Linked DNA regions of Homo sapiens: all the other regions are linked to region 6. Evidence: promoter capture Hi-C in 16 types of primary human blood cells and fetal thymus (Javierre and others, 2016). All regions are on one chromosome and are shown on one strand. The core of a region is centred on a gene start or on the middle of the fragment in contact, and the rest is flanking DNA. Distances in the headings are between cores, read along the strand shown. Region 1 overlaps BORCS5 (BLOC-1 related complex subunit 5). Region 2 holds the start of GSG1 (germ cell associated 1). Region 3 overlaps DUSP16 (dual specificity phosphatase 16). Region 4 overlaps BORCS5 (BLOC-1 related complex subunit 5). Region 5 overlaps MANSC1 (MANSC domain containing 1). Region 6 holds the start of DDX47 (DEAD-box helicase 47). Region 7 overlaps EMP1 (epithelial membrane protein 1).

Evidence for each region. The method cuts DNA at HindIII sites, captures the fragments that hold promoters and counts their contacts. A CHiCAGO score of 5 or more calls a contact.
Region 1: a contact is called between a fragment that was not itself captured here and the fragment with the promoter of DDX47 in region 6, in 10 of 17 cell types (naive CD8 T cells, total CD8 T cells, non-activated CD4 T cells and 7 more). The highest score is 15.2, in naive CD8 T cells.
Region 2: a contact is called between the fragment with the promoter of GSG1 here and the fragment with the promoter of DDX47 in region 6, in 1 of 17 cell types (naive B cells). The highest score is 5.2, in naive B cells.
Region 3: a fragment that was not itself captured here is called in contact with the fragment with the promoter of DDX47 in region 6 in 1 of 17 cell types (naive CD8 T cells); the score reaches 5.5 in naive CD8 T cells.
Region 4: a contact is called between a fragment that was not itself captured here and the fragment with the promoter of DDX47 in region 6, in 2 of 17 cell types (naive CD8 T cells and fetal thymus). The highest score is 6.4, in naive CD8 T cells.
Region 5: a fragment that was not itself captured here is called in contact with the fragment with the promoter of DDX47 in region 6 in 2 of 17 cell types (non-activated CD4 T cells and total CD8 T cells); the score reaches 6.1 in non-activated CD4 T cells.
Region 7: a fragment that was not itself captured here is called in contact with the fragment with the promoter of DDX47 in region 6 in 2 of 17 cell types (naive B cells and M1 macrophages); the score reaches 5.8 in naive B cells.

The regions. Positions count from the first base shown.
Region 1 is chr12:12,370,689-12,373,738 of GRCh38, forward strand. The region is part of intron 2 of BORCS5 (BLOC-1 related complex subunit 5); the gene reads left to right. Among named protein-coding and RNA genes, the nearest start is that of BORCS5, 15 kb to the left of the region's middle. The HindIII fragment of the contact is 9,315 bases long and covers 1-3,050 here.
Region 2 is chr12:13,102,173-13,105,599 of GRCh38, forward strand. It overlaps GSG1 (germ cell associated 1), which reads right to left and starts at 1,495. Exons shown (of 7, transcript NM_001080555.4): 1 at 1,293-1,495. The coding sequence starts at 1,340. LOC105369666 (a long non-coding RNA gene) reads left to right here. Exons shown (of 2, transcript XR_931369.3): 2 at 1-274. The HindIII fragment of the contact is 5,406 bases long and covers 553-3,427 here.
Region 3 is chr12:12,474,554-12,477,803 of GRCh38, forward strand. It overlaps DUSP16 (dual specificity phosphatase 16), which reads right to left. Exons shown (of 7, transcript NM_030640.3): 7 at 1-3,250. The coding sequence ends at 2,280. Among named protein-coding and RNA genes, the nearest start is that of DUSP16, 87 kb to the right of the region's middle. The HindIII fragment of the contact is 4,519 bases long and covers 1-3,250 here.
Region 4 is chr12:12,439,373-12,442,641 of GRCh38, forward strand. The region is part of intron 3 of BORCS5 (BLOC-1 related complex subunit 5); the gene reads left to right. Among named protein-coding and RNA genes, the nearest start is that of BORCS5, 84 kb to the left of the region's middle. RefSeq lists enhancers at 1-1,003, 283-577. The HindIII fragment of the contact is 2,138 bases long and covers 864-3,001 here.
Region 5 is chr12:12,324,908-12,328,128 of GRCh38, forward strand. MANSC1 (MANSC domain containing 1) reads right to left here. Exons shown (of 4, transcript NM_018050.4): 4 at 1,149-3,221. Among named protein-coding and RNA genes, the nearest start is that of MANSC1, 24 kb to the right of the region's middle. RefSeq lists an enhancer at 400-900. The HindIII fragment of the contact is 2,222 bases long and covers 604-2,825 here.
Region 6 is chr12:12,811,967-12,815,155 of GRCh38, forward strand. DDX47 (DEAD-box helicase 47) reads left to right here and starts at 1,380. Exons shown (of 12, transcript NM_016355.4): 1 at 1,380-1,488; 2 at 2,165-2,258. The coding sequence starts at 1,402. RefSeq lists an enhancer at 1,207-1,516. The HindIII fragment of the contact is 15,992 bases long and covers 1-2,187 here.
Region 7 is chr12:13,205,791-13,209,042 of GRCh38, forward strand. The region is part of intron 1 of EMP1 (epithelial membrane protein 1); the gene reads left to right. Among named protein-coding and RNA genes, the nearest start is that of EMP1, 11 kb to the left of the region's middle. The HindIII fragment of the contact is 5,765 bases long and covers 1-3,252 here.

The DNA of each region.
Region 1 (3,050 bases), core at 248-2,747, 440 kb before region 6:
CTTTTTCAATCTCAAAATGTTCCAAAATTGGCCAGTGACAGCATCTTCAATCTAACTTCCTGTGTCCTTTTTTTTTTGGAGATGGAGTCTCGCTCTGTGGCCCAGGCTGGAGTGCAGTGGTGCGATCTTGGCTCACTGCAAGCTCTGCCTCCTGGGTTCACGCCATTCTCCTGCCTCAGCCTGCCGAGTAGCTGGGACTACAGGCGCCCACCATCATGCCCAGCTAATTTTTCTGTATTTTTAGCAGAGACGGGATTTCACTGTGTTAGCCAGGGTGGTCTCGATCTCCTGACCTTGTGATCCGCCCACCTCGGCCTCCCAAAGTGCTGGGATTACAGGCGTGAGCCACTGCGCCTGGCCTACTGTGTCCTTTTAACATATTCCCCTTATACTTTGAAAATGTCTTTATTTTCTGGCACAATATAATGTTCCAGACTTATTTTGTTCTTCCATGTCTCCAGCTCTAGAATCGGGTATTTCTTAAAGGAACCCTGGTTCTTTTAGTGAAGGGTCTTATTTAGAATCCATTTCTGGACCTTCTCAGAAGATTTAGCTAGGGAATCCATAGATACACACCCACACATTTACACCTATGTTTATTTTTTATATGTTCGTGTATTTGGCAACACGATCTTGCCCTTTCACCCTGGCTGGAGTGCAGTGGCACAATCACGGCTCACTGCAGCTTTGACCTCCTGGGCTCAAGGAATCCTCCTACCTCAGCCTCCTGAGCAGCTGGGACTACTCTGCGTGCCACCACGCCCAACTAATCTTTTTGTATTTTTTGTAGAGATGGGGTTTCCCAATGTTGCCTAGGCTAGTCTCAAACTCCTGGGCACAAGCGATCCACCTGCCTCAGCCTCCCAAAGTGCTGGGATTGCAGGCATGAGCCACCATGCCTGGCCTATATTTTCTATATATTGAAAATGACAAGTTCACACTAATATGTTCTCTATGTTCTTTGATCTGCAGGTTTGTACTTTTAATCGAAAACTTTGGTCATTATGTCTTCCAATATTTTTCTGCTCCCCCCACCTGCTTTTTGTGGGACGCCAATTCGATGTTAGACCGCTTGATATTTTCTTACACATCACTGACACACCTTTCAATTTTTATTTTTAGTCTTTTCCTTTCTGTCCTTACTTTGGATAATTTTTACTGCTGTGTTTCCATGTTCAGTGGTCTTTTTTTCTGTCATGTCTGTACTGCTTTTAATCTCATCCAAGGTGTTCTTAATTTCAGATGCTGGTATTTTTCAGCTTTAGATTCTCCCCCTTAAATGTCTTTGATCTCTCTGCTTATCATGCTTATGTTTTCCTCTACTTTTTGAACGTATGAGTACTTCAATTTTATTTTAATTTTATTTTTAAGAGGGAGTTTCGCCCTTGTCGCCCAGGCTGGAGTGCAATGGCACGATGTCAGCTCACTGCAACCTCTGCCTCTAGGGTTCAAGCAATTCTCATGCCTTAGTCTCCTGAGTAGCTGGGATTTCAGCCACCCGCCACCATGCCCAGCTAATTTCTGTACTTTTAGTAGAGACGGGGTTTCGCCATGTTGGCCAGGCTGGTCTTGAACTCCTGACCTCAGGTGATCCACCTGCCTCGGCTTCCTAAAGTGCTGGGAGTAGAGTGCATTTCTTTTAAAATTTACTTACTAATTTTTTTTTTCCTTTTAGAGACAGGATCTCGCTCTGTTGCCCAGGCTAGAGTGCAGTGGCACCACCGTGGCTCACTGCAGCCTCAACCCCCCTGGGCTCAAGCAAACCGCCTGCTTCAGTCCACCAAATTGTTGGGATTACAGGCATGCACCACCACACCTGGCCTGGATTTCATTTTATTCCTTTAAGGATACCAGACTTTATTCTGGCATATACATATGGTTAAGTTACTTGTAGTCATTTGGACCCTTCCCATGTTTTCTTTTAAATACCGTTGGGGCTCATCTAGTGCAGTCTTTGCCTAGTTTAATTTCATCTCACTACTAAGGTGAAATCCTTCTGAGTACTCTACCTGTTGCCTTATGTATTATGAAGTCTCTCCACTGTGGCTAATGGGAACATGAGCTCTTCAGAAAATATTTGGCCTACTGCTTCTCTCTAGTTTTCTCCAGTCTCTGGAATTTCACCTTACAAATTTACAGATGATGTTTTCAGAGATTTAAGGGTACCCTGTGCAGATCTCAAGGCTGCCCCCTTCTCTCCCATATTCTGTTGTGTAAATCCTACCCACTTTAGTTTCTGCAAACTTTGCTCTCTCTCTAACTCAGTGAGGCTGCTGGGCTTTTTTTGATGTCCATTCTGCTATGGACTGAATGATTATGTCTCCCCCCAATTCACAGGTTGAAATTGTAATCCCCAATATGCTGTATTAGGAGATGGGGCCTTGGGAAGTGATTTGATCATGAGGGTGGAGCCCTCATGTCATGGGAGTCACGCCCTTACAAGAAGAGAGGGGAGAGAGGTTCCTTCTTCCTTCTGTTCTTAGCCATGTGAGGACACAAGGAGAAGACAGCCATTTGCAAACCAGGAAGAGTGCCCTCACCAAATATCCAATGTGCTAGCACCTAAATCTTGTACTTCCCAGCCTCCAGAACTGTGAGAAATAAATGTATGTTGTTTAAGCCATCCAGTTTATGGTATTCTTGTTGTAGCAGCCTGTACCGACCAAGACACCTCCCTGGTCTGCCTCTTGGAAACTGCCTTTAGGTAATAAGCTGGGAAAATGGTAGGGCTTGTTTTCCTTCTTTCAGGGATCAAAGTCCTGTGCTGCCTGTTATACAGTATCGGAAATGAGTGTTTCATATATTTTTGTCTGGTTTTCTAGTTGTTTATTATTGCATAATAGCAGTTAATCCTTCATGTGCAGAGGCAGAAATCCTTAAAAAAATGCTTTTTAATCCATATTTTTCTGTCCGATACCAGTTTTTCCATTTTACTTATAAGACCCTCCTGCCAACAGCCTTTAATTGGTCATTCATTTCTGCAACATATTGATAAGCACCTGCTAAGTGCCTGATGTGGTCAGACAGTGCAGGTACAAAAAATAGAAGAC
Region 2 (3,427 bases), core at 245-2,744, 290 kb after region 6:
AGTAAATGGTAAAGTCAACACTGGCAATCTTTGAGGACTGTTCGCCTGACTCATCACCAGGCTGCCACTCAGTAAAAGCCAAGGCACAGTCACCTTTAACAAAATGTACAGATTGCAGGCCAGATTTATGGGACCTCCTGCAGATTGAGGCAATGGATTAAGTGTACTTTATACTTCTCAGGTACATATTAGCAACCAGACGCTCCCATATTCCCTCTGTGTCTCTCCTGGAAAACCACTGATAAAGAACAATAATAAAATTTATTCTAAGCCATGACTGGCTTTTTCTGTCATGTTCACATCCACTTCTTTGTCATCTATTCACTTGGGGCTGCTTCTGAATTAGGGAAGCTGCCTGAACCCACACTCCGATGGCTCTTCAGAACCACCAGCTCAGCTCTGCAGTCCCAGAAGTGCCTCTTAAGTTATCCTGTTCTTTCCTTTGAGATCCTAACTTCCAGCTGGTCAACAACATACCACATTGCTCCCTGTGTTGGAGTGTATGTACGTGTGTGTGTGTTTGTGTATGTGCTAGTTTGCTGGCTAATTGCAAGCTTCATTTTTCTCTCCTGAGAAAGGCAAGATATCTGAGAATGAACACCATTTGTTTTTTTAAGTAATCCTTAGAGCTGAAAGTTGGGAGGCTGGTCGTTTCTGAATGTAGGTCAAATGCTAAACAAGCCGCAACTTCTCTGCAGAGTGTGAGAGTCTTCCTGGTCTGGAAGGATCCCTGAAGATTCTGCTGGATTCTCTGAGACGAGAAAGAGCTTGACTGTGTGTTGTCCTTCCCAGTTCCAGATCAGAGCTGCCTTCCAGCAGGACCTTGGGGATGCCCCACTGTTCTCTGGCATAGAGCTTGATGTCTGCTCTTTCAGCTCACTGGGGTGACACACAGCTCTATTGTTGCCACCGCTACTGGGCCTTTACCAGGCTCCAGATTTTGGCAACGGGAATAATGCAGATGAAAGGAAAAAAGGAGAGGCATAGGGAGCCCTGGGAACAGAAAGGAGAAGGAAGATGATGAGACAAGGGAAGAAGAAATGGAAGTTTTAATGAAGGAAGATGAAAAGGTAATAGGCCAAGGTATGGACATACCAGTTTTATCTATGAAAACTGGGCTGAGTGACACATTTTCATTCCATTTTGTAGAACCCTATAGTGCATTTCCAAGCTCTTTACTGTGACCATGTGAAATACATGAAATTGATGAGTTAGTGTAACCTGTGTTACAAATCCAGCAGTAAAGATATGTGTATGAGATGTTCATGAGATTTCAAAATCACTGTACCTACCTCCTGGGTGAGGCAAACATTTTGAGTCAGTTGAGAGGGATCGCTCATTCACTCTTGCAGCGGGAAGGCAGAGAAGTTTCAGTTTATCTTCTGTTCTGTCTCAATCAGTTGGGTAGAATGAGTGTTTAGCGTGAGGATGAATCAGGTCCCCTCTTGCCAGCAGAGGGGTAAGGTGGTGTGTGGTGGATTGGAGAGGATGTCCTGAGGGCCAGACACCAGCCAGGGCGGGGTTGGGTGACCCGTGGGGTTTATTCTGTGATGTCACAACGGCAGTCAGGGGTCTCCCTGTTGCTCCCTCAGCCTCCTCCCATAAGGATTGGGGGGGGTCATGCTGGGTACCTACCAGTGGCTGGATGTCTTCTGAGGTCGTCCAGATCAGTGCTTATCTTATTGTGCATAAGATTCACCTGGGGAACTTAGTCAAGTGCAGATCCTGACTTAGTCAAGTGCAGAGTCTGGGATGGCTCTCACGTGAGTCCAGCCAGACCACACTGAGTTGTGAGACTCTAGACCAGTGCTGTCAAAGCAAAATGCAATGTGGGCAGCATATGTCATTTAAAATTTTCTGGTAGCCACATTAAAAAAAGTAAATTGGACACACATACTGTGATACAGCAATCATATGTTATACAATACTATGTTTAAAATGTAGCCCTCCCCACACAATAAAGTTGGGTTTAATGAAAAATATTTTATACTACTTTCATTTTAAAATTAAAATTTAGTGAATTCAAATTACATAAAATTAGAAATTCAGTTGCTCAGTTGCACTATCCATATCATAAGGGCTCCACAGCCACACATGGCAAGTAGCTACTGTATTGGATGGCACAACTCAAGGCCATTCCCTGAAAAGGTAACAATGTACAGAAATTACCATTCTAAAGGGCTAGTATCTGGAAACCCAGCAAACATTCACTAACATCATTTTAATGAATACATAATTAGTGTTTGGGGACTGTTAATATGGAGGCATAACTCTCGGAGACTGGAAGAGGGCCTCATCCAGGATTCCAGCTAACAGTCTGGATGGGGCCCTCTGCCCTGTGAAACCTGTCACACTCAGTCCTCCTCTGAGCTTTTGCCAGGGTTCCCCTCACTGGGATCCCTTCCTTCTCCTTGCTGCCCTGCCTAAATCTTACACAACCTCAGGGCACATGATTCCAGTCTCACTACCTTGTGGCTCTAGCCCTCCTTACTCCCCATTTCCTCTTTGCTCATACAGCATGCCTGCTTTGCTTTTGGTGTGTTAGTCTGTTTCTCTCGTGAAATTCTAAGCTGCTTGAGGACAGAATCTGGTTTTTTACTTCTATCGTGCTTAATATAGTGCCAAGGGCATAGTAGCTGCTCAAGAAATATTTATTATTTTATTTAATGACCTAAACTACCTAAGGAAGTATCTAAGAGAGAACATCGGATCTCGAAGTGCCAATAACTTCCCCAATGGAACAACATGCCTTATTTTTGGCACATCTTAAATTGATCAAGATGTCCGTTATAAGTTAATTTATAAATTTAATACAAATAACCATGAGTATTTTAAAAGACCAACACAAGTTGATATTAAAGTTTATATGGGAAAAAAATACACAAGACTAGCTAGGAAAACCCTGAAAAGGAAGAGCTCTGAGGTGGTGCTAGCCCTAATTGATATAAAGCATACTACAAAGCCTCTATGATTAAAACAACATGGCACATGTATACATATGTAACAAACCCGCACGTTGTGCACATGTACGCTAGAACTTAAAGTATATTAAAAAAAACAAAAAAACCAAAAAAAAACAATGTGGTACTGGTGCATGACTAGACAAACAGGCCAATGGAAGAGAACAGAAAGTCTAGAGATAAACACAGCTATGTATAGACTTCCAGTATAGGACAAAGGTGATATCTGTAATCACTGGGGCACAGATGATTTTTTTAAGAAATGTTGTTGGGATAAACTAGATAGCCATTTAGAAAAATATAAATTATATTTATTTAAAAATCATATACAAGAATAAACTCTAGATGGACTAGAGATCTGAATTTTAAAAATGAGATTATGGCCGGATGCTTAATCCCAGCACGTCAGGAGGCCGAGGCAGGAGGATAACTTGAGCCCAGGAGTTCAAGACCAGCCTGGGCAACAC
Region 3 (3,250 bases), core at 135-2,634, 340 kb before region 6:
GCCTCCGAGGCCACCCCTTCGCCACGGCAGTCTCGATTCCAAGAACTGATTATCTGACACTAGTGAACCAGCACTAAAGGCTGTAGGATGTGACTACATCACAGTTCCAGAAGGAAGGGGGACCATGGCCAAGAGAAGCCCTAAATGACAGAAGCTCATTAAAACCAAGTCCCCCAAACCTCCTGAAACATCGTTAGCAAGGAGCTACTGCTTTCCTTTCTTAAACATGTTTTGGGCATGACCACACTCTGGAAGTGGTGAACTGTTACACATTTGGTGTGTGTGTACATAACATCAAAAACTACTGTGTGAAACTTGAGAATGTCTGATTAAAGATTTCAATGTATATCTAAAAACTAACTCAAATCGTTGACCAGCACTTTCCCAGTATCATAACAATGCGGCTGACCCTCTTCTGCCTTCACTTTACACCCCATCATAGCACATTATTTGTGCACAACTAGTGAGGTCTGTGCGGCTCATCATCCCCATAACCAAGTCGGTCTGTGTTGAGTCATATCATTCTGTGCTGGTTTTAGAAGTCACCATAGGAAACATGAAGTCACATCCTGGTCAAAAAACTGTCCATTTCTCAAAAACAGAGAAAAACCTGAGATACGAGGCAGCAACTAGCGACACTTACAGGAAGGGAAAGAACAATGACAACACCCGCCCAGCCCCACCCCCAAAAAGCTGCTGTTGTGAATTAAGGCTTCAAAAGAGGACCCACATTGTAGCTGATAAAACTCAAGCCAGGAGGATGTTTGAAAGCCAATCTGCACTATCACTTGTTCCAGTGACCTCCTATGTTCAGCTGCCAGGACCGATTCCATACAGTGATTGTAGGTTGAGGACTGAGGACGCCCCTTTGCTCTCGCTCCATTTTGATTTGCTTTTTCCACTGAAGACACGCCGGCCAGCGTTTCCAAAAACAGCTTGGCCATGGCTTTGCACTCTATTCACAACTGATCAAAACTCAATGGTCTTCTCAGCTTTCTCAACCGTTTTATTCTGAATATTCCTTCCTCACTAAAGCCTCTCTCAGCCCTACTAGTAAATGTGAAAGTCTGAGGCAATCATAGAAACATCAGCCCCATCGCATGCCGAGGGGATAAAAGCCACTAAGGAAACAGGTTTCCTGCTTCTCCTCAGCAATTTGTACCTTTCTTAATCTTCCCATAATTTACCTCCCTAGGAAGTTTCCTATAAAATTCTGCCATATTATTACATTTTACCAACTGTATCCATGCAGTGAAGCAGAAAGGGCAAAAACATCTGCTTTGGCTGAGAATTTGAAGGTGCTGCTGCTCTGCTACCAACCCAAATAAATTCACATTTGGCTTGAAACCAAGTTCATCTTTATTTAAAGGATTGACAATCCCATTTTAAACAATTCTTTGATTTACAAAGAGGGAGGTAGACTCGTTAGCCTCCCAACCTTAGCTTAAATCGTGATGTTGCCAGGTTCCTGGTGGTTCAGCTGAATCCTAGACAGTTTCCCTTCTCTTCATAAAGCTGAGAAGAAAAAAAAATTATCTCCATCTAGGCCCACGGGAATTTTGTGCATAGACAGTTTGAATTGGTCTGAAAAGTGTGACTAGCTACCTACCTATTCACAATGCCTAGAAAATGGGCTACCAGATATGGTAGTGGTCAAAGCCCCGACTTTCCTGTCTGAGGTACTGGGTTTGCTCTAAGGTAGACCTTGGCAAGGCCCCTAATGGTCCGTCCAGCAGAGTGATGCTCGTGTCCCTCGGCTGTCAGGTGAGCGTGGGTTTGTGAATCAGCTTTGGATAGGATCATTTCTCTTGGATTTACCACTAGGCTCTGTCCCTAACAGGGTCTACCTACCTGACCCCCAAGCTGGCTCAGTCTCAGCGCTAAGGTGTACTATGGAAGGGTCCGGACAAAGACTAATATTTGAGATCTCTTAGTAGCACAACGTGAAAATGGTAGGGGATTTTGTCCTCCAACACCAAAGACACTTGCTTTTTTAAGAACAAGAGGATGTGTAATTCACTGAATAAAATGGTTTTCCTCCGTCTAGGGGGGATTCTAGCATCTGCCCTTCCATTTTTGTTGAGAGAAGTATTAGCTGATCTCTCAAATGCAGATGTTAAGAGAGTAACAACTGGGTTGATCCACCTGTTGCTTTTACACCATAGCTCCATTTTCCAAAAATATATATGTATGTACATATATATATTTCAGATTTACAGGGAATTTTTTTGTGAACAAGAAAAAAAAATTGTCTATAGAAGTCACAAGTGTCTTTCTTCTCAGGAGACCTCAATGATTTCCATGCTGCCCGAAAAGCTAGACTGACTGCCCACTTTCCCCAGCTCTTCCCGTGACCTGTTCTCTGACATGATGCTCTCTCCAAATTCCATTTGGCAGCTTCTGCGTTTAAACTGCTTTTCAAAGGGGCTCTCTTCATGCCAGCTCCGCCGCGAGTCAGCTCTGTCACTTGGCTTCTGCCGCCTGCGCACAGAATAGACTTGGTCTCCGCAAGTGGGCAGCTGGCTGCAGCTGTAGGCAGAGTAACTGGCACTGCCTCCGTAGATGGCTGAGGCAGAGTAGAAGTGTGAGGACTCTGTGGCAAAATACCAGCTGCTGGTCAGGGAAGGGGTAGAGGTCTGGGGGGCCAAGATATCCGAGTGCCAGCCCTTAAGGCCCAGGCCAGCAGACTTCGTGAGGTGCTGCTGGCTGGTGGAAAGGCCGAAAAGGAAGCTGGTGTGGTAATTGTCCTCCACGCTCCCACTTCGATGCAGTGGAGATAAAAGGGACCTCTGGGCGGTGCCACTGCTGCTGGTTCTGACCGAATGCAATCGCTTGCTCTGGCTGTCTGAAGGCCTGGCGGTCTGCAGCTTCTTGGGGATGCTGGCTTCCTCCTTATCAGGACTGGTTTCGGGAGTCTGCTCCGATAGTTCCTGAACAGGGGAGAACTGGCATAGCTTGTTGGTCCCATCCAGAGTAGTGGAAGGTTTGTAGTATTCCAAAGCATCTTCTGATGAGGAGAAGCCATGTAAGGATGCTGCCATGCTGGCTGAATATGAAACTGATTTGATATCCAGAGAGAAGGAACGCTTGAGCTTATTGCTGTCTTCCAGCCTGTCTGCGGACAGGTGCAGCCCACTGAGCGCCTGTACCAGCGGGCTGTCCTCTAACAGCGACGGCTGCACGCTGGGCACGCTGGGCACGCTGGCGGGATGCACGGGCCTTTGTCCTGCTGCCTCTGAGGTAGCAGAGT
Region 4 (3,269 bases), core at 683-3,182, 370 kb before region 6:
ATCCCAGCACTTTCGGAGGCCAAGGCAGGTGGATTGTTTGAGCCCAGGAGTTCAAGACCAGCCTGGGCAACATGGTGAAACCCCATCTCTACAAAAAAGACCAAGAAAAAAAACAAACAGGCATGGTGGTGCGTGCCTGTAGTCCCAGCTACTTGGGAGGTGAGAAGATGGTTTGAGCTCAGGAGGCAGAGGTTGCGGTGAGCCGAGATCTCCACTCCAGTCTGGGCTACAGAGCAAGACCCTGTCTCAAAAAATAAAATAAACAGTTTAAAATTCTGTTTGAAGAACTTTGGGATTCACTTTGAATAGTCAGTAATTACCCAGGATTATTGCAAAACAGAGACCAGCACTCACAGTACTGAGCAATACCTCAGCAGCGTGCTCGGGCAGAGGAGGTGAGTGCAGTTTTGGGGCTTTCATTGGTGGCGTAATGTGTCCGTCTTATCTCTGTTGGTGAGTGTTAGCAAACTCCTGAATCATATCCGTCCGTCTATGTTCACCTCAGACCTAAGGGTTGAAATTAGTCACTTCCAAATGAGTAAAGCAGAGGATGTCATTTTGATCAAACACCAACTCTCTGATATTATTCCAGATGTTTCCTGGAAATTTGGTTGGAAAGATGAGGAAGTAACATAATGCTATGTGTTGACAAGTGAGGGAACTTAATAACCATGGAGAATATGTGTTAGTGGAAGTATATAACCGGGATCAACTAGAGGTCCCTAAGATTACAGTACCTGTGATCACTTAAGTCTGGATCAAAGGGAAACATGGCTATAACTATTTCTGATTCAGATAAAGGAAAATCAGAGAGTTAGCTCAGCTTTCCTTATGTTAAATTTGGATGATGCTCTTGAATGAAAAGCTTATGTTTATAGATTTGTGTATGTGAGGGAGAAGAACGGAGGTAATTTACTTTGCAATCAGGGAGTCTAGTGACATACCTTAACTACTAGTTTCTTTAATGGCGATAGGCTGACCCCTCAGCCAGCACTGTTGAGCAGCTATTGCAGACCCACCTAGTGGGGAGGTCCTTTGGGGGTTCCAGAGACATGTAACATGGTCCTTGCTCTTTGAGAGTTTAGCCTCGCTGAGGGAATGAAGATATACAGAACAGAAATATGAAAAAGGCACTGTTGAAGGGGAATGCTCATTTGTTATTTATAACTAAAGTTCTGTAAGAGTTAAAGATTGGGATATCCTGGAGCAGACGGGGTTTAAGCTAGGTCTTTGAAAAAAAAAAAAAAACCAGGATTTGGGAAATGAGAGGAAGAGGGGGGCATTGCTGCAGGGGAACAGCTTGACAGTCTTAGAAGAAAATTAACTTTGGGGCTTCAGGGACACTGAAGAAACTGGCCTGAGTTTCAGTGAGCTTGCTCAGAGAAATCTCTGCATTAAGAACCACAGAATGTTGGAATTGGAAGGACCTTAGAGACCCTCTGGTCCAGTGCTCTCATTATTCAGATGCAGAAATTAAAGGCTTTTACAGAAAGTAAGCACTTCGCCCAGGTCACACAGTGAGGTAGTGGCCAAAATTAAGTTAAAAGTGGATGAAGATCAAAGGGGATTTTTTGTTATGCAGGTGGTGCACTTGAACATGTTTACAGGATGAGGGGGAAGAGGCAGATGAGACAAGATCAAAGATGAAGGAGAAAGGGGGATTCTTAGAGCAAGATCCCTGAGGAGGCAAGAGTTGGAGCCTTGTGGGACATCTGTTCTGAGAGAACAGGGAGGACGCAGGCAAGTTTATGACAGGAGGGTCCCTGGCACAGATCGGTCACACCCAGCAGCTTGTATCCTCTGTGGAGAAGAGGGAGGTCATTTGTTGAGTGGTCATGGTGACTGGGTACAGTAATGAGTGCCATTAGGCATTGAGGGCTCAGCTGAGGCAGGGCAACTTGTATTTGCTCTTTGTATTTGCAGACAATTTGGCAGAATGGTTCTGAGCGTAAACTCCAGAGCCACACTGCCAAGGTTCAATCCTGGCTCCATCTCTGACTACCTGTGTGACCTCAGGCAAGTCCCTTAATTCTTCTGAGCCTCAGTTTCCTTTTCTGTTCAGTGAGAACAGAATGACATCCACCTCAGGTTTTCGTGAGGGTTCAATGAGTTATTCTTGGTACAGTTCTAGGGACCACGCCTGCCATGTAGTAGACACTGTAGTGTTAGCTCTTTGTTATTGCTTTAAATATAAATGATGACTAAGGAGAAAGGCCTATCCTAATTGCCATGAATTGGCCCATTTGAAATTACTTGATACCAGCAGCTGTCTAAATATTGCCCCATTTTAAGTTCTGCTCTTAACAACCCAAGTATAAGCACTAAATAGAGGCAAGGCAAAAAAAAAATTTTTTTTTTTTTAAGCCCACTGTGGTTTCCTTCAAACCCTGCAGGATTTCTTTCATGCCATGAATATGTAGTTTTTGGAATTTCTGTAGTGAATTTAACTGTTTATTCTGCTTTGTGGATAGCATACTCGTGCCTGGGGAACATGGGTCTTGAGAAATGTGAAGCTGGATGGTGGCAAACCATTAGTCCTTGGCTTCTAGGCTGTGGATACATGGCTGCCTCTGATTTGGGGGATTTCCTGTATATTGCCTCATTTCTAGTTAAGGATTCAAGTTGACAGACACTTAGTTTTAGGTTACATCTATCATTGAAATGTGGGGTAACTGAAAAGCCAACCAGAAAGGAGTGTGCTTCCTCCCCAGGTGTGGTTTCCCTGGGGGCGAGGGATGAGGCTGGTGGCAAATACGCAGCCCCAGGAAGATGCAGCACAGACTTTTGGAGCTTCTCTTGTCACTTCCCTGGGTCTTACTTCTGCCTCATTCTAGTTGCTGTCAGTGGGTAAATGTGTTCATAGATTAGAACAAGTTGCAGCACAGACTTTTGGAGCTTCTCTTGTCACTGCCCTGGGTCTTATTTCTGCCTCATTCTAGTTGCTGTCAGTGGGTAAATGTGTCATAGATTAGAACGCCTTTGTAACTAAGATAAAGCCACAAGCTTTATTTTGTTACAGTTCCTGTGTGCTTGCTTGAAGGCCTTGAGAGTACATTCATGATATGATTCTAGTAACTCCTGTTTTAATTCTTAGATGTGTTGATAAGCATAGTGTATTGACATAAACCAGTATGAAGCATGGAGGGGGTTCAGATGAACTGGTAAGAAAAACTTGCAATCCTTGGAAAGCCATATGATTACACAGGATTATGAAGAGGCCCTAAGGTTTCTCTAATTTAGCCCTTTCATTGTGCAAATAAAGAAACCAA
Region 5 (3,221 bases), core at 465-2,964, 490 kb before region 6:
GCCTGTAATCTCGACACTTTGGGAGGCTGAGGCGGGCAGATCACCTGAGGTCTGGAGTTCAAGACCAGCCTGGCCAACATGGTGAAACCCCATCTCCTTTACTAAAAATACAAAATTAGCTGGCCATGGTAGTGCACACCCATAATCCCAGCTACTCAGGAGGCTGAGGCAGGAGAATCGCTTGAACCCAGGAGCAGAGGTTGCAATGAGCCAAGATCATGCCATTGCACTCCAGCCTGGGCGACAAGAGAAAACTCTGTCTCTAAATAAATAAATAAAAATAAAAGCTATTTAGGGCCAGGCATGGTGGCTCATGCCTGTAATCCCAGCACTTCAGAAGGCTGAAATGGGCAGATTGCTTGAGTCCAGGGGTTTGAGACCAGCCTGGCCAACATGGCAAAACCCTGTATCTACAAAAATACAAAAATTAGCTGGGCGTGGTGGCACATGCCTGTAGTCCCAGCTACTTGGGGGGCTGAGGCAGGAGGATTACTTGAGCCCGAGAGTTGGAGGCTGCAGTAAGCTGTGTTTGCGCCACTACACTCCAGCCTGGGTGACAAAGCAAAATTGTCTCAAACAACAACAACAAAAACAACAACAAAAAGCTTTCTAGAACATTTCCAATCTAGTGCAAACCTCTTTTTGGTTACACCGTGTATCATTCCAGTTATAAGAATGTAAAAAGTGGCAACTCCGGAGCCAGGCTATCTGGGCAAGTGACCTCTGGAAAGGCCCTTAAACTTCGCTGTGTCTCAGTTTCCTTATCTACAGAATAAGGATTAAAATTATTCAAAAGGTTGTTGTGGAATTGAAATGAGTTAGTATATGTAAAAGTGAATCTGGCGCATAGTGTAAGTACTTTCTTTTGTGGAGTCTTGCTCTGTCGCTCAGGCTGGAGTGCAGGGGTGCAATCTTGGCTCACTACAAACTCTGCCCCCGCCACGCCCAGCTAATTTTTGTATTTTTAGTAGAGATGGGGTTTCGTCATGTTGGCCAGGCTGGTTTCGAACTCCTGACCTCAGGTGATCCACCCGCCTCGGCCTCCCAAAGTGCTGGGATTACAGGCGTGAGCCACTGTGCCCGGCCCATAGTGTAAGTACTTTCTAAGTGTTTGCTATCAATAAGTAATAAATCATAGAATACTCGACTGAAAGTGGTACAAATATTAGAGATTTATTATTACAGAACAAGATGGAAGTTGGCAGTTCCAGGGTTTGTCCTGTCAATTAACCAAGGCATCCCGGAGACTGGACTCTTCCTGTACCCACTGCCACGCTCAGTGTGGCAGTGCCTTCTCCCCTCATCATGGCAGGGAGGCCACCACAGCTCCAACAACCAAGTCTTCACATGGTCAGCATCCCAAGCATGAAATAAGGGGATGTGGTTAGAAAGGGCTTTTCTCCTTGTGCAGCCTTCCCTTTACAAGCAAGAAAATCTCTCCTAGAAGTCCCTAGTAGGTTTCCTTTCAGCTAAAACTTGGGTCACAGGCCCATCCCTGAACCTGGCACTTCCAACCTGTAACAAATGAGGCAGAAGTGGGACTAGGGCTGGCTGCTGGGCAGCTGACCGGTAGTGCCCACCACAGTCTGGGAGCCAAAGAGTTCCAAAAGTTCCTCACTCAGGCCAGGGGTAATTGAGAAACAGGCACATAACAGTATTCATCCAGGAGTCCTCAGGTTTTTTAAGAGTTTTTTAGTTTTTTTTTTGTTGTTGTTGTTTTGTTTTTTTTTTTGAGATGGGCTCTCGTTCTGTCGCCCAGGCTGGAGTGCAGTGGCGTGATCATGGCTCACTGCAGCCTCGACCTCCTGGGCTCAAGTGATCCTCCCACCTCAGTCTCCCAAAGGGCTGAGATTACAGATGTGAGCCACTATGTGCCTGGCTAAGAGTAGCTTATTTTTATTTTATTTTATTTTATTTTTTTGAGATAGAGTCTTGCTCTGTCGCCTAGGCTGGAGTGCAATGGAGCGATCTTGGCTCACTGCAACCGCCCCCTCCCGGCCTCAAGCAATTATCCTACCTCAGCCTCCCAAGTAGCTGGGATTACAGGTGTCTGCCACCATGCCTGGCTAATTTTTGTATTTCTGTAGAGATGGGGTTTCACCATGTTGGCCAGGCTGGTCTAGAACTCCTGACCTCAGGTGATCCACCCACCTTGGACTCCCAAAGTGCTGGGATTACAGGCGTGAGCCACCACGCCTGGCCAAGAGTAGCTTTTTAACCTAGGTCAGTATCGTGTTGGTAAAATACGGAGAGAGGATGTTTGAGCAGAAGGACCTACCTCATCTTCTCACCTGTTCTAGGCTGCTACCTTCTCTTTCTACAAACCAAAGGAGGGGGCTCATAACTCAATGGGCCTTGTGGGAAAGGCTAACCAGACTAGTCACTGCTGAATTCCTCTAAGGGATTCCCCTACCCTGACTGCCCTTGCCACAGTTGCACCCACCATCCTAGGGGCAGTAAGTAGAGAGAGCTGTGTGAGAAGAGCACTCTTTCCACTCCAGATGTCCCCTACAACCTATATCCTCACGGCCACTAACAGTTTGGGCCCGTAGCATCACTCATCTGGACCGCTCCCATGTGGTCTCCCCATCACAACAAAGACTGCAGCAAGGTGGACAGAGAACTCCAAGAGAGCCAGGAAAATACCTTTATAAACCATCACAGAAAGCCTGATTTCCACTCGCTAAATCCATTAATAAAGAGAGGAGAAATTTTAAAATTCCAAGGCACCTGGTTACTAATCTGATTCTGGCCTACATGTGGATATTCAATAAATACTTGTTAAGTTAAATTGACTCAAGGTTTTATTTATTCAGCCTACTTAAAGCTTATGTAAACCCCTTGGAGATTTGTGTCAAGCTGTTAAGTTGGAAAATATAAGAAAAGTAGTATTTTCAATAGACCAGCTTTCCTCTTAATGTACTTTATGAACTTAGTGTAAACCAGGGAAATGGGGGAGGGGTACCAGAAGAGCAGAGGGGAAGGAGGTGAGGAGGAAGGAAGAGGTGAGGAGGAAGGAGAAGAAAAGCCTTTTCTGTCATTTCCTGCATTTGTCTTAATTGCTGTACTTATTAACCAGCTACTGCCCTCTAGTGCTCACTGTATTAAGTTCGCATCTGAATTCCATTTTTATCTTTAAAAACTCTGGTGACACTTGGAAGGGATCAAATTTCCTGTTTTGCAGATAAGCAAATTGAAGTCCAGAGGAAAGAGGTATCAAA
Region 6 (3,189 bases), core at 130-2,629:
ACAGGTGTGAGCCACCGCGGCCGGCCTATTGTCTTATACACTTAATTCTTTTATTCCCAATTCCCAGTTTTATTCTAATTCTTCTCCCTCTGCAGGCAACCATTCTAAAATATTTCAAGTGTATCTTCTGTTGGATGTGTTTTAGCAGAATGTGATATCTGTGGGCCTATATTTTAATATACTTGATATATTTTATGCTTTTCTCACTAAGCACTAGGTTTTTCAGATCTAATCATATTGTTAAGGGCATGTTTGTAGACACCATGTTCACATTTTAACTATGCATTTTCCCAGTGACGGACACCAGATTGCCCCCAACTTCCCATCCTCAGGAATAAAACTGCAACGAGCACCCTGCGCAGTGTGAGACCCAAGTGACAGGCCACAGGAGGGCACTCGCTGGCCATGGGGCATGCAACATACAGCTCTGAATTTGCTGCTTTCCAGAATAGCCTTAGTAGCTTCACAGTCTTGGTACTTGGAATTCTCTCACTCTGGAATGATTATCTCCTGGGATCTTAAAGCGTTTTCTCCTGCTCAACAGTGAGGTCTTAACTCAAATATCACTGTCTCAGAGAGGCCTTCCCAATCTCACAGTTATCCCCACAACCCACCCTCCCCAGGTTACTCTGTAATTTTTATGTGAACAGGGTTTCACTCTGTTGCCCAGGCTGGAGTACAGTAGCACCATCTCCACTCACTGCAGCCTCAACTTCCGGGGTCAACTGATCCCTCAACCTCAGCCCCCTGAATAGCTGGGATTACAGGCGCATGCCACCATGCATGCCTGACTGATTTTTGCATTTTGCAGACACAGGGTTTCGCCACGTTGCCCAGGCTGGTCTCGAACTCCTGGGCTCAAGTGATCCGCCCGCCTCGTCCTCCCACAGTGCTGGGGTTACAGGCGTGAGCACACCCAGCTACTTTTCACAATTTGAAATGCTCTGTGATAGCTTATTTATGATCTGTCTTCTTTTTCTTCACGAGGGCAGGGGTCGCTGTCCTATTCACCAGCCATCTAGCATAGCCTTAGCAAATGGTAGGTTCTCAACATTATTGAATAAAGTAATGACATAATAAAAAAATAGTATTGTAATATCAATCCGTTCCAAACTCTATGGTTAGAAAAGCGGGGAACATAACTGGCGACACACGTAGGGAAGGCTCTTTAAAAGGGACCTAAAGGTCAACTGGAGTCCCTGGTGATCAGCCCCTTCTGCACTCGGATCTATTCCGCAAGCCTACGCGCCCATATTCACTGGGCCCCACCTGCCTAGCGGACGGGTGCAATCCCCGGCAAGCCCGCAGGGGGCGCGCAGAGCACGTCGTCCGGGGAGAACTAAAACTACATTTCCCAGCATCCCGCGCGCCGCAGACCCACTTCCGGAGACCTCACACAAGATGGCGGCACCCGAGGAACACGATTCTCCGACCGAAGCGTCCCAGCCGATTGTGGAAGAGGAGGAAACTAAAACATTTAAAGACCTGGTGAGAATGGATGACGCTGGCTTCTTTTATGTACTCTGGTGCTAGGCTCAGGGAGACCCCAGGTACCTTAGATCCCGCTCTGATAGTGTACAAAAGCATCTTGGGGCCTAGCTTGGGTTTTCCCCAGAATTTCAGAGGGCTGGGTTTCGGACGTGCTCTGAGTTTGGGTGGTGGGAGGGCTGCTGGGCCCTGAGACCCCCTATTTGCCCTATTCGCCACTTTAGTGTGGCAACGTTTGTATGTGCATCCAGGAGGTTGTACATATGGGGAATGGAATTGGTCTCTTTATAACTGGAGCTTTGGAGTCAGATGAACCAACCAGATTTGAATTTTGACACAGTCTCTTACTGAGGACAAGTTGTTACCTCTCTGTGTTTCTCTTTCCACATCTGTAAATTGGGGATAGTAATAAGTACTTACCTCGCAGAATTGTTGTGACGATTAAATGAGATGATACATGTAAAGCACCTGGCCTTGGCCTTGGTGAGCAGAAAGTGTTCGTTAAGTCTTGAGCTACTGTCTCATGGTATAGTTAAAGAGTAGGCTCTGAGATGCACAGTAAATACCTTTTAAATCAAATACAATGGTTGTACATGATGGGTCTGACAGTCAGTTAAGTAGGAGGGAGGTAGGGGTGTGCTGTTCTTGGCTAAGGTATATTTTTCTGAATTCCAAGGGTGTGACAGATGTGTTGTGTGAAGCTTGTGACCAGTTGGGATGGACAAAACCCACCAAGATCCAGATTGAAGCTATTCCTTTGGCCTTACAAGGTAGGTTGTATGACTTCGTACAGATTTAATATAAAGTTATCTCAATTAGATACCCCTTTTGAAAGCTGTTGCTTGCATACTTCAAGTGAAATAAGGATATGGTCACTAAAGGTACAAAGTTTGGGTAATGGTATTTGAAAATGTCATTCTCCAATTTTACTGAGCTTACTTTCTGTCTTAATAGCTGAAAGGGTTTGTTCTCTGCCACAGATGCTGACTTTAAGGAAGCCCTAGGTTAAAGTTAAAGTATATTAACGACAATCTTGGTAGACTTTATGCATCAGTGGGCGCACACTTAGGGAAGGATGCCTGGAACACATATGTGTGTCTTGAGGAGTTGAGAATTCTTGCTGTGAGCCATGTTTATCAGATTTGTAAAACAGTGGTTAAAGCAGATTGATGGCTACTGGAACTGAAACTAATGGGATGAACTTTTTTCTTTTTGAGATCTTTTTTTTAAGATGGAGTTTTTTTTGAGATAGAGTTTCGCTCTGTCGCCCAGGCTGGAGTGCAGTGGTGCGGTCTTGGCTCACTGCAACCTCTGCCTTCCAGGTTCAAGCAACTCTCCCGCCTCAGCCTCCCAAGTAATGGATTACAGGCGCATCACCATGTCCGGCTAATTTTGTATTTTTAGTAGAGATGGGGTTTCAGCATGTTGGCCAGGCTGGTCTCGAACTCCTGACCTCAAGTGATCTACCTGCCTTGGCCTCCCAAAGTGCTGGGATTACAGGTGTGAGCCACCACATCTGGCTGTAACAGGATGAACTTTAATAGGAGTAGAAGTAAAGTCCTGCTCTTAGATTCCTAAAGTACCAACTTTACAGGATTAGGGTGGGTGATAAAAGAGGCCCAGAGGTCTTAGTTAACTGAAATCTATTAAGATCCTCAGAGAGAGTGAATGTAATCATAGCAATTGTTATAAGAGGGGTAA
Region 7 (3,252 bases), core at 593-3,092, 390 kb after region 6:
GGTAGGATTTTAGCTTGGTTGAAAAGAATTTGATAGACTGTCACTGAAAGAAGAATACAAAAGCAGAGCTTTTATTTTTGGAAATCCAAGTCCTGGGATTGCAAGGGCTGGCTTGAGGTGCGTGGAGCCTCTTTCCTGCTGATTGGTGGTGGTTAGAGGTGGGGGTTTGGAGGTTCTTGAGCAGGGGAGTGCCATGGTCAGATAACCCAGTAGCAGGGTAGAAGATATGTTAGAGGGGAGTTGTTCAGAGACAGGGTCATGGGTGAGGCTGATGCCATGGTCAGGCTAGGACCTGAACTGGACAGTAGCAATGGGAATAGAACATAAGGAAGGATGTGAGATAAGTAATGGAGGTAGAAACTCAGGGTAGGACTGTGATGTTTTGGGCAACAAAAGTGGAATGAGGGGAAGGGAAGATAGGACATTTGGCAGTGGTCATTACTGCTCTTTTCTCCCCAGAAAAATCCTGGCCTTTCTTAAGCTGCCAGGGAAATGCCAGCCAGATCCATACCCTGCTTCTCAGAAAGCTCTCTCGTGCCCTTTTGTAGAGAAGGTCTCCATGATGCCTTTCATTCTGGGAGAATCTCACCCACTCTCAAATGAATCATGGAAATTTGAGCCCTGAGGGCCTCCCCCAGTGTTTGCATCGTCTTCAGCTCCTGATTTCTGAGCATGCTCCCCTCCCACCCCTCAGCTAGGGCTAATTCTTCAGTGACTCAAGCCCCAGGATTTTGACCACTTCCTTCACTGGGGAAGTGGGTTTTTGGTTGCTCTATTCTATTGTGTTGCTCCCAGTTATTGTGTTTTAGGTCACTCTTAAAGAATTGCTGCTGCCGCCAGGCCCCATGGCAGTTCAGTGAACACACAGACTTCTGGACAGGAAGAAGTTATCTGACTCCTAGGTTAGCAATCAGGGAACCAAATTATGCACCTCTAAACTTCCCTTCTGGTCCTTAGAAGTCAATTCTTCTCAAAGTCTCTGCAGATTTAGTTACCCACCAGAAAAGGAAAGGCTCCCATGGGGGCCTGAGTAATTTCTCACTGGTCAGAGAACCCTAAAAGTGTTAGGCTGCCTGAACAAAGGCAACAAGGCAATGCATGGCAGTCTCAGGGCTGTGTTCCTTTGATTCTTTCATTTGTGTGTGTGTGTGTGTGTGTGTGTGTGTGTGTGTGGTGTGTAAGAGGGAGGCAAGAAGCCAATAAAGATTTAAATGGATGGAGATAACTTGAGAGGTTTGGTTATCCCTCTTTCCCTTCCCTCATGTCTCATATTAGTTAGTCCTTTAGAGCTATAGTCACGAGCAATTTTAATCCTCAGGGTTCTATTTTATTTTATTTTGAGACGGAGTCTTGCTCTGTTGCCCAGGCTGGAGTGCAATGGAGCGATCTTGGCTTTTTGCAACCTCCGCCTCCCTGGTTCAAGTGATTCTCCTGCCTCAGCCTCCCCAGTAGCTGGGACTACAGGTGTGCACCACCACGCCCGGCTAATTTCTTGTATTTTTAATTGATACTAGGTTTCACCACGTTAGCCAGGATGATCTCGAACTCCCTCAGGGTTATTTCTACTGACTATATTAGCTATTCTGTTAGCTAAGAACTTTATCTGAATACTGAATGGTCAGTGTTTGTGAGGTTTGCATTAGAGCTAGGAGCACAAAGACACCTCTGCTCTAGTGTGGTCTGGGCAATGCAGAAAGAAAAGGAGGAACAGTGATCAGAAACAAAAGATGGTGGTCAGAGGTAGGGAACTGCAAGCCTGTCCGTTAGGGCAGAAAGAAGAACAGAAAAGGGATATCAGAGACCTGTGTGTGGCTCCGAGGTGCTGATCTCCATTTCTCTTAATAATACTTCTCTCCAGAGTCAACATACATGGGTCCTATACCTTCCTCAGTTTCCCACCCAGCCCCTAACTGCCCCTGTGCCATGTATGTTAGGTAGATGAGGCTTAAGAAGGAGATCATCCTCCACTCACAGTGGTGGGTACAGAAATGTGTTCCTGGCATCCACATAGAAGTCAGTGGACGGCCTGTTCTTTAAAAATGCAATGAATTGATAAGCTCTGCTGGCCTAGGTCTGGGAGTCTAAGCACCACAAATGAACGCTGTTATGAGCGTTCCCCTACAACTTTGGAACTGCTCAGTGCACCAAATGCTCTGCAAAAAGCGGGTCTTGCTTCAAAGTATTCAGAATTGCAATGCTGTGATTCTCTGCATCTTGGTTTGCGCTGCCTCACTAGGACTAGGGGTATGCTTTCCACTGGAGAGTGCCACCCATATCATTTTAGAGAGGGCTGAGGGAGAAGTCTACTATTGTTTTAGTGAAACACACTGCTAAGAAATAAGTAGTAGCCACCAATACTTCCAATGGTATAAATTCTCATAAATGGTATTTTTTTCAGTGCCTTTGTATGAAGCAAGATTCACAATGGGGCAGAGAATGAATCTCCCCACAAGCTACCTTGCAAGTAATGGGTGGGTGGAAGTTTCAGGAGCAGGGGTTCTTCTGTTTATTATACTCTGCTATTTGATAAATGCCCAGACATTTACCCATTAGTTACCACTAATGGCTTTTTCATAAAGACCTCAGTGATCGCCTCCTCCCAGACTGAGGGTTTCCCTGGGGGCAGGAGGTATCTAGCACAGTGTAAAGACTGGGTAACTAGGGATGATTCAGCCCAGAAACTCAAGAAGATAACTCATTCTGTTTTCACCTGTGTTGGGGGGAAGGCCATTGAAAATAATGGAAGCCCCTCTAAACTGACAGTGAATGATATTAGTAAAACCTGACAAATAATGGGCCAGTGAAAAGATGGAGAAGTTGTAGCTTAAGCTAAACAGCCCCTCCTTCTGGCTGGATACAGCAGCTAAAAACAGAGAGAACTGTGTGTTTTGCACAAGACCGCTTGCTAACTCAAGACATTTTGCTTCTTTCCGTGGTGAAAAGACAGGGAGGGCACCATCACAAAAATCTAAGATGAAAGAGAGTCGCTCTTTTGCTTGATTCTCACATCCATTCTTCCAGCCTGCAATGGGCAGGGCATATGGTCAGGTGGATCCAGGGGCCAGGCACTCGCACACACCACCAGGGCTGTGATGCATGGGCCCAGGTAGAGGTGCCGTGGGAGGGGTCATTGAGACAGAGAGTGTGAGCTGGGCAGAGGAAATCAGACTTGACTTTAGGGGTTACAGAGCAACCCAAGGAGACAAAATGCTGCTGAATTCCCAACAGCCTATCAGGGAGGGAATGTTTTCT